Regions from separate parts of the Homo sapiens genome. Here regions 1 and 3 are each linked to region 2. Evidence: promoter capture Hi-C in 16 types of primary human blood cells and fetal thymus (Javierre and others, 2016). All regions are on one chromosome and are shown on one strand. Each heading gives the region's core, a stretch centred on a gene start or on the middle of the fragment in contact. The rest is flanking DNA. Distances are from core to core; before and after follow the strand shown.

What was found. Contacts are between HindIII fragments. The CHiCAGO score rates a contact against its expected background, and 5 or more counts as called.
Region 1: a contact is called between a fragment that was not itself captured here and the fragment with the promoter of SLCO3A1 in region 2, in 1 of 17 cell types (M1 macrophages). The highest score is 5.4, in M1 macrophages.
Region 3: a fragment that was not itself captured here is called in contact with the fragment with the promoter of SLCO3A1 in region 2 in 1 of 17 cell types (activated CD4 T cells); the score reaches 5.8 in activated CD4 T cells.

Annotation. Positions count from the first base shown.
Region 1 is chr15:91,277,188-91,281,577 of GRCh38, reverse strand. The region is part of intron 9 of SV2B (synaptic vesicle glycoprotein 2B); the gene reads right to left. Among named protein-coding and RNA genes, the nearest start is that of SV2B, 180 kb to the right of the region's middle. The HindIII fragment of the contact is 1,146 bases long and covers 1,006-2,151 here.
Region 2 is chr15:91,851,414-91,855,993 of GRCh38, reverse strand. SLCO3A1 (solute carrier organic anion transporter family member 3A1) reads right to left here and starts at 2,286. Exons shown (of 10, transcript NM_013272.4): 1 at 1,906-2,286. The coding sequence starts at 2,085. RefSeq lists silencers at 2,682-2,821, 2,690-2,864. The HindIII fragment of the contact is 9,711 bases long and covers 1-4,580 here.
Region 3 is chr15:91,327,040-91,331,391 of GRCh38, reverse strand. No RefSeq gene overlaps it. Among named protein-coding and RNA genes, the nearest start is that of CRAT37, 130 kb to the left of the region's middle. The HindIII fragment of the contact is 3,270 bases long and covers 997-4,266 here.

The DNA of each region.
Region 1 (4,390 bases), core at 329-2,828, 570 kb after region 2:
AGCTGTTTGTTTATTAGTGGGGAAGGGCTTCAGGACCTGGAAGCCAGTGTCTAGCGTAGGTGCATACGGAGTGCTATGCACCAACCTGCTGGTTTTCAAAGGCAGGTCCACGGACCTTCTAAGTCAGAATCACAGAAATGTGAAATAGTGTGAAATTTAAATATTAATAACACCTCACTTTCTGAGACATTTTTAAAACATGCAGGTCCCTGGAGTGGTCCTAGAAGTTTTGGAAGCCATAGAATTGTGAAGGTCTGAGAATCTTCATTTTTAAAAAAATTGTCCCAACAAAGATGTGGGGAAATAGGCCTTTCATTCATACTATTGGTAGAATATAATCCATGCAGCCTCTTTGGGGAGCAATTTTGCAAAATTTGAAATGCACGTTCTCTTTGACCTAGGAATACCACCTCTAGGAATTTATCCTACACATACTTGCCCATGTATTCAAAGAGATACATTCACTGATCTTCATTGTAACACTGCTTGTAACAACAATGGATTACTACATACATACATATGTAATAGATGCCATATAATGGAATACCATGTAGCCATCGTAGTAAATGAGGTAGATCTATATGTGTTAATATGGAATAATCTTTAAGATATATTGTTAAGTTAAAAAATCAAGATGCAACATAGAGTTTACAAGACAGGCTCATTAAGGTAAGAAAGGGCATGGATACATATGCTTCCAAATATATCTGGAGAGCTACACAAGAAACTGATAGAAACGGTTGTTTCCAGGGAGGCACAATGGAAGTGAGGAATAATACACTTAATTTTCACTTTATGCCAAGCGTATGTATTATGTGTTCACTTTTTTTTAAAACTCAGTTAAAAAGACAATAAGGCACCTAGACGATTCTGAGGCGCAGCCACATGTGGGAGTCACTGCACCTCTCCAACTCCTGCATATTTAATAGGAAAGAACAATGCAACATTTAAAAATGTATCTCACATACATTACCATCTTCCTCTGTTGGCTATATTTAACAAGCTTGGTCAAACTTTTAGGCTGGAAGCCTTTAAATATGTCTTCATTTGCAAATAATTACAACACTTTCTTTCATTCTTCTATTCATTCACTTACATATTTAGTCTTCTGCAAACACTGAGCATGGTACTAGGTGCTATGAGTATAGAGAGGAAAGTCATGGTCCCTGCTCTCCAGTCTAATTGGAAAAAAGTGCAAGCAAATAGGCAACTACAATACAGTGGAAATCGGCATGACAGAGATAGCACAGGGTGCTGATGGCCATTGTTCCTTTTCAAAAGGGCCACCAAATAATTCACTCCATGACCACCTACAATGGGCCAGTGACCCTTATCCTTCATGCTCTATCATGTCCTGCTCAGAACCTTAATCTAGAGCTGCCAATCATTAGCTTCTGCTAAAAGACCCCACACAAGAAGTCCCGGGCAAGTGTTCACCAAAAGCAGGACCCCAGACCACTTGCATCAGAATAAACTTGAGGTTATTATTAAAGATGTCATTTCCTAAATTCCAGCCTACACCTCTTGAACCAGAATCACCAATGGCAGAGACCAGATTATTATACTTAAAGAAATTTGAGAATCATTGGTCTAGAAAACCAAACTATTTTGAGAAATTTTTCTTAGGGCCAAATTTGCTACAGACTTTTAAACAGGGGCCTCCAAAAGCTATCACTAAATTCTTCAGATTTCCATGGGAAAACTAATTGGTGAGTCTTTTGTTACAAGAAGATGCCTCTGATGTCAAAATGTATAAGCTAGACGTGTTTACTTAAGAGAGCTATTCCTGGAGACTGTTGCAGACCTTTGCTTTTCTTAATATATCCTTCTCTCTAATATAGTAATAGGCTGCTGATGTAGCCTTGGGTGATATTTTAATATTCTTCCCAGGGTGTCTGAGAAGGCAGAGCCATAAATCATAAATGGGTCTGACGCAGGCAGCCCTTAAAATGTCTCTCCAAGTCAGTTAGAAAAAGCCAGAGTTATAAGGGAAGAGATAAAAGGAGAAAGGGCCAACACATATTTTATGACGCTCTACATAAATCATCTCCTCCGATCTCCAGCCTATATACTGAATTGGCCTACCCAAGATTCTTGATTCAGGAGAGTTCAAAAGATGAAAGAAATGTTAGCAACAGTACTTTGTAAGCTTTTCCTTTAAGGCAACAGAAGCCATTGGCAATCCAAGGTCCATGACAAAATTGTCATTACATACACTTTGTTTCAGTTGCCTTCAGGCCCAATGGTTAGTCCAGCAAGTGATTTAAGCTACACCAAAGTCACATTCAACATGTGTTAGGCTTGAGGGCATCACCCTAAAGAAATTCAGTCTAATTAAAGAGATAAACAAGAAAACCAGCCATTAAAATTTAGTGTGATGATTATCAAGATAGAGGTATGCTATAAAACCACTTCTAAGGGGACACTTGTGATCCAGTTGGGTAAAGTATGAGGTGACTCACCCTGAAGGAAGAGTGAAAGCTCTCTAAGCAAAGATAAGGACATGTATTCCAGACAGAGGGAAAAGCATGTGCAGACACAGATGCATGTCATATATACTCTTCAATTGCCTTTTTTGAAAGCAGAGAATTCTCTTTCACGTAAATTACATCGTCATTTAAGGAGAAAATAAATAAAGGCTACGGCTCCCCAAAGTTCACACACATAAATATTTTAATAAGCTCTCTAGCCACCATGAAATGAAATAGAGTTCTTAAGAACAGGCACCCCGGCTTCTCACATATTACCTTAGATCAGGTCCTAATCTGAGGTAAATCAAAAGACAAATAAGAGGATCACTTCAGAAAATATGTACTTGGGCCTAATTTGCTTAAAGAAAAGAGGAAACAAATTCTTGCCTGAATATCTGTGTAACTTCTTTTTTTTTTTTTTTTTTTTTGAGACGGAGTCTCGCTCTGTCGCCCAGGCCGGACTGCAGTGGCGCAATCTCGGCTCACTGCAAGCTCCGCTTCCCGGGTTCACGCCATTCTCCTGCCTCAGCCTCCCGAGTAGCTGGGACTACAGGCACCCGCCACCGCGCCCGGCTAATTTTTTGTATTTTTTTAGTAGAGACGGGGTTTCACCTTGTTAGCCAGGATGGTCTCGATCTCCTGACCTCATGATCCACCCGCCTCGGCCTCCCAAAGTGCTGGGATTACAGGCGTGATGTGTAACTTCTTACATTCTCCAGGTGTAGGGGTCAGGCCTTCACCCAACCTGTGATGCCACCCTCCAAAAAATGAAGAGTCTAACTTTCAGAACTTAACCACCAGGAGCCCTCAAACAATTTTCTTCTCCTCTCGAAGCCCGCATTTAAAAAAATCTATAAAATAGGGGTGTTGAGAAGATGGCTCTTTTTGCAGCTCTAGCATGGTTCCATAAACGGGGCGTACTTTTACTGTGTGTAGCCCCAAGAAAGAAATAAAAGAGTGGACTTAGGAGATGGCCATCTTACTTCCTCAAATACTGAAATATTATCTCATGAAGAATCAGAAAATGTTCATGATGGGAAATCCTGGTGCCAACGTCAACCAAATAGCGTAAGGACATACATTCTTGTGCCTCAGTGAGTCTGGCAATAAAATCCAACTTCCCCTCTCTTTCTTTTCTTACACTCAAAGATACCTGAGTGGTGAAATCACGATACTTCACTCTGTCTCCTTTACAAAGATCCTAGCACATTTACTGCCTTTAGGAACGATAACTGAAGCATAGAACATAGAACAAAAAGGGAAATAATAAGGATATAAACATTAAATTAGCAAGAGAAAAATAGTAGAACAAATTCATATATAAATATAGTTAGAAACATCCTAAGTCAAACACTAATTTAGCCATGCCAAAATCTGGAAACAATTCAAAGATCCCTTCAACAGGTAAATGGATAGACAAAATACAGTAATACATTCAAATCATGGAATACTACTCCACAATAAAAATAAACTACTAAAAATGCAATAACATGGATAAATTCCAAATGCATTATGCTAAGTAAAAGAAGCAAATTCAAAAGGCTTCCTATTGTATAATTCCATGTAAGTAACATAAAGAAGATCATTGGCTGCCAAGGACTGGGGATGGAGAAAGGGCTGACCACAAAATGGCATGGGGAAATCCAGGAGGTAATGGAATTGTCCTGTATCTTGCTTGTGTTGATGGTTACATGACTGCATGCCTTTGTCAAAACTCACAGTGCTGTATACTAAAAGGGGTAAATTTACTGTACATAAATTATTCCTCAATAAAAAAGGAAGTTTCAAAAAGTTTCTAAGGTAACCATAGCTAAAACAAAATCCAAACCAAGCTCAACTACTGCCTAGATTTTCTTAACCTCCCCACATACTGTTAAAACCTAGCAAAAGAGGTGTACACATTTTTTAGTCCCTACTGT
Region 2 (4,580 bases), core at 1,037-3,536:
TTTGTCAAATCCTTAGATCACTGCAACCGAAAAATAGTAAGCCCACGCTTTTATCACTCCTGGGGTGAAAAGTTCTGCGGGTGTTTGCCACACATGAATAATGCACTCTACCGAGCAAAATTGGTTTGAGGCAAACAAACCGTTAAAGTGGAGGCAGCTGTTGATATACTAATTACCTCCTTCTAAACATAGACCCGGTTAGGTATTATGTACTTTGCATATGTCACAGTACAGACCCACATATATTTTATTAATGTGAATTTGCATCTCTGTAATACATGTACTTATTTAAATATTTTAACAGTTAAATTTCCCCTAAGGAAGTGCCGATAAACTGACTCCCAAAACACAATTATCCCCTATCCCTCAAATTCCAAGGGCTAATAGGTACTGTCTGCAACTGCATATTATAACTATAGACACAATAAGTGTATTTTATAGAACAGAAAACAAGGTATGCTTTTGACTACAGGGTTCACTTGCAGTCTACAAGTTACGAATGCACAAGACAGAGACCGGGATGTAAACGCTTTTCGTCTCAGAATGAGCAACAGAAATGTATTTGATTTTCAAAAGCCCTGAAATTCTGTCACCCCAGGAACAGAGCTGAGTTTGAAGACCCCCTCTCTCACAACCACCTAACTTCCTCAACACCGGAGACCAAGCACTGCTTGTATTTCCCTTTAACAGTGAGCCCTGAGCCTTAAGAGATAGTTTATGAATGGTATACAGCCCCCAGCGTCTGGCCCTCATGAACTTTACCCCAAGGCCAGGAATGAGGGATTAATCATAGCATCAGGATACGCGTGGTTCTATCTCTGGATGTGGTTATTCAATGGCCAAAATCTTGTCCAATTCTATCTCCATCAAACTTGCTCAGGAATACTCAAAGTCTATGACATTTGATTCCAGTTGCGGGTCAATAGCCAAGTAATGATTTAACACTATAAACTCTCAAAAAAAATTTCCCGTTTAGACAGGACTGTACTTAGGTGTGGAAGCACGCTCTCTGGAACTCAAGTTGCGACCACCTGAGCAGAGGAGGCGAAAGCGACAAAGTAGGTACCTGACAGTGCTGAGTCATTACAAGCTGTTTCCTCTGAAATGTTACGCACCCATGGGCCCTCTGAGCATTAACATCCCCTTTCTGGAGGCAAATAAAATACATATTCATTGTGGAAAATGGTGCAACCTTCTGTAGGCGACAGACCACGATGGGGAATTTAGCACTAAGAGTGGATAGCAGGAACTACACAAACTCGCAGCTGCTCTCTAGGTACCGTAACTTTATCCCAGACGCTCAAAGAGGGCTATAGGGATACCGGGTGGCAATATTCCCCCTGCAGCCCCGGCTCAGGCCAGGGCCACACTAGGGCGCATTTCACTCTAAGCTGTTATATCCCCCTGTAATTGGCGGATGTAGAAAGCGCCCGGAGAAAATGATGCATAATAGATTTGTTCTCGAGGAGGATGCAATGGAGAGTAGAGGACGCAGGATGCTAACTGGTTTTTCTTCCCATGTGCAGGTCACCTGAAAACCCCGACGCTTTTTCGTTCCTCTCCAAGGAGAACCCTGAACTCACCGTCTCGCTCCGCTCTTATGGGGGGAGAGGAATAGTTTCACGCCCACCTGCCCGCCGCCTCTCCTCCCCCGGCACCCCCTGCCCCAGCCGGACGCGCGCGAGCTGCTACCGGCATCAACGGTCCCGCCCGCTACCCGCTCGCTGGCAGCCCCGGCCGGCAGCTCCCCCGGCGGCCGCCTCTGCACCACTCGCCAACCTCCACGCCGGGCCGAGGTCATGCCCGCCTGCCCCCAGCGCCGGGCGGCCCCCTCGTCGGGCCAGGCGGCCGCTCGAGAGCCGGGCTGGGGAAGGGGCCCGCGGCGGAGTTGGCTCGGGGACTCACCAGGTAGGCGCCCACCGTGCCCTGCGCCAGCATCAGGGCGCACTCGGACACCAGGAAGATCTTGATGTTGGAAAAGCAGGACACCTTCTTTTTCTTTTTCTTGTTCCTCTGCGCCTCGTCCCCCTGCAGCTCGCCGCTCCGGCCGCCGCCCGACGAACCGCCCGGCTTCTTCCCCTGCATCCTTCCCCCGCCGCCGCCGCCGCCGCCGCCGCTGCCGCTTTCCCGCTCGCCCCGGGTGTCGGGGCCGCTGCCGGGCGGGGGTGCGCGCCTCGAGGCTGCGTGCTGTCCCCGCCCCGGGTTCGCGGCGGCCGCCCCCGTCCTGCCGGGGCTGGAGAGGTGGAAGGCACAGCTCCTCGCCGCCGCCGCCGCCGCCGCGATCGCCCCTTCCTCCTCCTCCTCCCCCGCCTCCGCCCTCCCCTGGCCTCCTCCTCCGGCTCCGGCTGTGCCAATCACAGGGGCTCGTCGCGCCGCCCGCCGCCGCCGCTGCCTCGCCTCCCGCGGCCGCCCGCCGCTGCCATCGCCCGGTTCCCCTTGCCCGCCGGCCGCGCCTGCTCTCACCCCCTCAGCCCCAGCCCCAAGGCCTGGGCCTGGGCCGCCGCTGCGCGCCCTCGCCGAGCCGCTCCTCGCTGCCGGTGCGCCCCCGGGGAGGCACGGGAGGCGGGCTTGGGATGCGGAGGGCGGCCCGGCGGCCGAGGCTGGGAGGGTCCGGCTGCCGGGAGAACTGGGGAGACCCGGAGTCCTTGCGGAGTAAGGGGGGTGCCCCTGAGGGCGGGAGGCGGCGCCCGGCCCCTAGGTGGCGCTGCGGGGCACGGGGCCCCGCGGCGGAGACTGGCGGCTCTGCGCCGGGCGCGGAGATGGGGTGCGGAGGCGCCCCCGCGGGGCTGGGACCCGGCGCTCGGGAACCCGGGTGCCCAGGCCTCAGAGGGCAGGCTGTTCCCAGGAAGGGAGAATACTGAGTACCCAGGAAGGGCTTGGCGCGCGCTCTTCTCCGCCCGGGGATTTCTGGGGACAGATGTTGTGCTCTGGGTCTTGGGGAGGTGCCAGAGGTCAGAGCTGCTTGAGGCTTCTGCCGCCTGCCGGTTTCTGCCCCAGCTGTCCCCGGCCACAGGGGGTGTTGAAAAGGCCCCAGACCGAAAGGACAGAAAGGGGAAGTTAGAGGAATACGTCGGGAGCCCCACGGACCGTTAGTGCCCCAGCCTCGGTGTCCAGGCGCTGCAAGATCGCCGCGGCCCCAGCAGAGGGCCTTCTCCGGCCCTTCATCCGCCCAGGGCCCCGCTGCTGGAGCGCTCAGCAAGCGGCCAGCCGCAGGCCTGCTGGGTCCCCACCCGTCCCCTGGCTCTGTGGCCCTGGCCACCATCCTCGGCCTTGACCTGAATGCCTGGCCCATGGCAGCCGCTCCTAATTACTCCCCACTCTCACCGTTACCAAGGAGTGTGGGCCACAGGGCACTACCAATAGGATCTGCTAGTTCTCAACTGCAGCGTTTGGAAGCTGAGAGAAAAGCTCAGAGGGCTGGACAGGTACCAGGAAACAGCACCTTCCACCTGGGCCATTGGGGGACTCAAGGAATCATTTAAAACGGTTTCCTTAATAATTGTGTCAAAGAAAATGACCCACTCTCCCAAGCGCCTGTGTCCAAATGCAGGCTCAACTTCAAAACTGAATAGCAATGAACCCGACCATATTTTTCCTTTCTCCCGAAGAACTTGAATGAGAATGGAGGGTGTAATGGTGGGGATGTTGTTTTGCCATGGCATTTAAATATAAACTGCTTCATCCTTCTGTGGCTCCAGACGTGATCTCACCCAGGCTTGGTGTCGCTTTGAGATGCCCTCACCTTGTCTAGGCCACCTCCTATCTGAATTGGCTCCCCCCACACTTGAAGTCTCTTCCCGTCTTCCCCACTTCCTGAATCAGTGGTCACACCATTCCCGGCCAGTCCTATAATGAGAATCCTTACTGCCCCCTTCTTTCTTCCCCACACCCTCCTATCACTCGGAGCCAACTTCTCTGCAGGATCTTTATGTCCCCCTCTTTCCCTCCCCATCACTTTGCTTCATGGGCTACCTCCCCACTTCCTCCTGAGAAGACCCTTGACAAGCTAGCTCTGTTCCCTGCCTCTGTGACGGTAAGCTGCAAAGCTGAGCTGAGACTTGTCTACGAATGGTGACCCCATTGCTAATGAAATGTGCGGAGTGCTTTATAGTCTTCAACTCTTATTTACATTCTTTGTAATAACAAGAGCTAATGTTTACTGTGTGCTTATTATGGCCAGACACCATTCTCAGTGCTTCACCCGCATTTACAACGTAATCCTCACAGCAATCCTCTAAACCAGATACTATTATTAGCCTTGTTTTACAGATGAGACAACTGAGGCCTAGAAAGGTTAACCTGACCAGTGTCACTTGTCTAGTAAGTGGCAGGGCAAGTCTTTGAAAACCAGGTTGTCTGCCATCATAGCCCAGGTTCTTTATAACTACATACATATTATCTCGTTTATCACGCAGTGTGGTTCATCTGATGGGGAGGCTGGGACTTATGTTGTTCCTCTTTTATAAAGCTGGAAAGGAACAAAACTTGCATCCATGTCCAGCCCTTTTTGTTCTTTTTTGTTTGTTTGTTTGTTTGAGATGGAGTTTCGCTCTTGTTGCCCAGGCTGGAGTGCAATGGTG
Region 3 (4,352 bases), core at 1,382-3,881, 520 kb after region 2:
AAAGACAGATAAGAGAGATATAAAGCCTAAAGTGATTAGATTCCCAGAAGGAGAAGAAAGAAAAAATGGAATAAATAGCATCTGAGATTTTTTTCAGAACTGATACATGAAACCAATACATATAAGCAGGCTCTGAAAATTCAAGTAGGATAAATAATAATAAATCCACATCTATATGCATATCAAATATGTGACCAAAAAATAACCAAAACCAAGAAATTTATAGAAAGAAATAAAGATAGAGTTCCCTCAAAGTACAGCAGTGAATAGATAACTGACCTCAACAACAACAATGAAAGCCAGAACACAGTAGAAAGCTATTTTCGATTAGTACAAACGTAAGATTCCATACCTGGTAAAATTATTTTTCAAAAATGACAATGTAATAAAAACTCTTCAAACAAGCTAAAATTGAAATTCATGACCAAAAGACCCTCACTGAAGGAAATTCTAAAAGATACCATTCAAGCAAAAGGAAATGATCCGAGATAGACAGCTGAGACTTAAAAGGGAATGGAGAGCAAGGAAAGTTATACACATATCTGTAAATATAAACTTAATGCCTAGTGAAACACACACACACACATGCATACACACAAACATGCATACATGAAGAGTTATAACACCATATAACAGTAATATGGGCAAGGGATAACTGATATTGAAATATTCTAAGGTGTATCATGGAGTAAAAAAATGTATTAAATTTTGATTTTTTTATGTTAGGTATGCATGTTGTCATTTCTATGGTTACTACCAACACAGTCAAGAAAAAAAAAAAACCTAAAAGAAAAATCTATTGTCTAAGTTAACAATTCTGGTACTGCTATACATATAAACAGAAATTGAACAATTAAGTAAACAGATGGCAGATGGTAGGAGCCAGGCTCCTCATTCTTGGAGCGGGAACTTACAAATAGGCAAGGGTGGAGGCTAGAATGATTGATGTGGTGATGAATTAAAGTTGGGAACATTAATAAGAATTCATGTGAAGCTTAATATAGATACCTGTGGTTACATAGTATTGATATGTATAGATATGTGTATACCAGTTAACATATACACATATTTCTTTGCTCTGTCAGCTAAACAGGCCTAAAAGAAACAATAAGCATACCTAGATCCAAAATCTTGATTTCCAATACCAATCTCCAAAAAGAAAAAAGAAAAAAAAAGAAACCAGCACTCCTTGAGGTAATGGCTGATTCTAGGATTGAGACAGGAAATATGCAAGATGAGCTTGGAGTATTTTGCAGTGCCAGAAAGGAAGGAAGTGCCTTAAAAAAATCAGACAGAGGAAGTGGAGCAAGATGGCAGAATAGAAGCCTCCAGCAACTGTCCCCGCTGAAAGAACACCAAACTGAACAATTATCCACACACAAACAAATCTTCATAAGAACCAAAAATCAGGTGAGTAATCCCTGTACCTGGTTTTAATATCATATTTAGGAAAACAATACCTGGTTTTAACATAATATCAGCTTGATATTAAAGAAATCATATTAACATCTTATGAAAAGGGTAGGAAAAACAATCACCTACACACCCCTCCCCTATCCCCCAGCAGTGACCACATGGCGTGGACAGAGAATCTGTGTACTTTGGAGAGGGAAAGCACAGTGGCTATGAGACTTTGTATTGGAACTTGGAACTCAGTGCTGTGCAGTTACAGCAGAACTCCAGGCCGAACTCAGCCAGCACCCACAGAGGGAGCATTTAGACCAGCCGCAGCCAGAGGCAAATCATCCATCCCAGCAGTTGAAACCTGAGTTCTGGCAACCCCTCCATCACAGGTTAAAGTGCTCTGGGGTCCTAAATAAATTTGAATAGCAGTCTAGGTCACAAGGTCTGTAATTCCTGAGCAAGTCCTGATGCTGTGCTGGGCTCACAGCCAGTGAACTTGGAGGGTACCCGACCTAGTGAGACACCAGGTGGGGAAGCTGGAGGGGTGCTCGTGTCACCCTTCCCCCAATCCTAGGCAGCACAGCTCACAGCTCCAGGAAAGACTCTTGCTTGAGGAGACCACAGGGGAGAATAAAGAGGAATTTGTCTTACAACTTGGATACCAGGTCAGCCACAGTAGGATAGGGTACCAGGCAGAGTTCTGGGGCCCATATTCCAGGCCCTAGCTCCCAGACAACATTTTTAGACAAACCCTGGACCAGAATGGAACCTGCTGCCTTGAAGGGAAGAAACCAGTCTGAGCAGGATTCATCACCTGCTGACTAAAGAGCCCTTGGGCCCTGGATAATCAGCAGTGATACCCAAGTAGTACTTGTTCTGGGCCTTGGGTGAGACTCAGAGCGGTGCTGGCCTCAGATATGACCCAGAACGTTCCTAGTTGTGGTGGTTATGGAGAGAGACCCCTTCTGCTAGAGGAAAGGAGTGAAAAGGGTAAAGGGGACTTTGTCTTACAGCTTGGGCACCAGCTTGACCACAGTGGGATAGAGCACCAAGTGGACTCCTGGGGTCCCCAGTTCCAGGCCTTGGTTCCTGGATGGCATTTCTGGACCTTCCCTTGGCCAGAGGGGAGCCCACTGCCCTGAAGGGAGAGATTCAGCACTGGCAACATTTACCTCAAGCTGACTGAAGTGCCCTTCCCTTGGCCTTGAGTCAACATCCGTGGTACCCAGGCAGTACTTGCCATGGGCCTGGACAGTGGTGGCCATGGAGAGAGACTCCTCTGCTTGAGGAAAGAGGAGGGAAGAGTGAAAAAGAATCTTGTGGCTTTGGTGCCAAGCTGAGCCACAATAGGAAAAAGCACCAGGTAGATTCCTAAGGTTCTCGACTCCAGGACCTGGCTCTCAGATGGTATCTCTGGACCCAACTGGGACTGAGGTAAACTTGTGGCCATGAAGGGAAGGACACAAGCCTGGCTGGATTTGCCACATGATGATTGTAGAACCCTTGGGCCTTGAGTGTGCATAGGCAGTAGCCAGGCAGTGGTGACTGCAGGCCTTGGGTGTAACCCAGTGTTGTGCTGGCTTTGGGTCTGACCCAGCACAGTGGTGGTGGCCATAGGGGTGCATGTGTCACTCCTCCTGCAGCTTCTGGCAGCTCATCACAAACAAGGAGAGTCCATTTGTTTCAAAGAAAGTAAGGGGAAAGAACAAGAGATTCTGTCTGGTAATCCAGGGAATTCTCCTGGGTCTTATCCGAGACCACCAAGGCAGTACCTCTATGAGTCTGCAAAAGCCACAGTATTACTGGGTAGCTTAGTGTGCCCCCTAAAATAAATACAGCTGTGGTAACCAAAGACTTAGACCACAACACTTAAGTCCCTTCAAATACCTAGAAAGTCTTCCTGAAAAGGATGAGTACAAACAAGCCCAGACTGCAAAGACTATGATAAATACCCACCTCTTCAATGCCCAGACACCCACAAGCATCCATAAGCACCAAGACAATCCAGGAGAATATGACTTCATCAAACAAAGAGTCCCAAAAATACAGAGATATGTGACCTTTCAGACAGATAATTCAAAATAGCTGTTTTGAAAAGCTCAATGAAATCCAAATTTAAAAAAAAAAAAACTGAAATTCTATCAAATATCTTCTCTGACCACAAGAAAATAAAATTAGAAATCAATAACCAGAGAATTTTGGAAACTATACTAACACATGGAAATTAAACAGTGTGCACTTGAATGAACAGTGGATCGATGAATAAATTAGAAATAAAATTGACACCTTCTTGAAACAAATGATAATGGAAACACAACATACCAAAATTTATGGGATATGGTGAAAGCAGTATGAAGAGAAAAGTTTATAGCAATAAGTGCCTACATCAAAAAAGTAGAAAAACTTTAAATAAAAAACCTAATAATGCATCTTAAGGGACTAGAAAAGTAAGAGCAAACTTAGTAAAAAGCAAAATATTGAAAATCAGAGCAAAACAAATGAAATTGGAAGAAACAAAAGAAAACAATACAAAAGAACAATGAAATTAAAAGCTGTTTCTTAAAAAAAAAAAAATGACAAGCCTTTAGCCAAACTAAGAAAAGAAGAGAGACAATCCACATAAATAAAATCAGATTTGAAAAAGGAGACATTCCAATTGATACTACGGAAATTCAAAGGATCATCAGAGGCTACTATGAGCAACTATTTGCCAATAAATTGGAAAACTTTGAAGAAATGAATAAATTTCTAGACACATACAACCTACTAGGATTGAACCATGGAGAAATTCAAAACCTGACAGACCAATAACAAGTTATGAGATCAACACCATAATGAAAAGTCTCCCAGCAAAGAAAAGCTTGGAAACCGATGGCTTCACTGCTGAATTTTACCAAACATTTAAAGAAAAACTAATACCAACCCTACTTAAACTATTTTGAAAAACA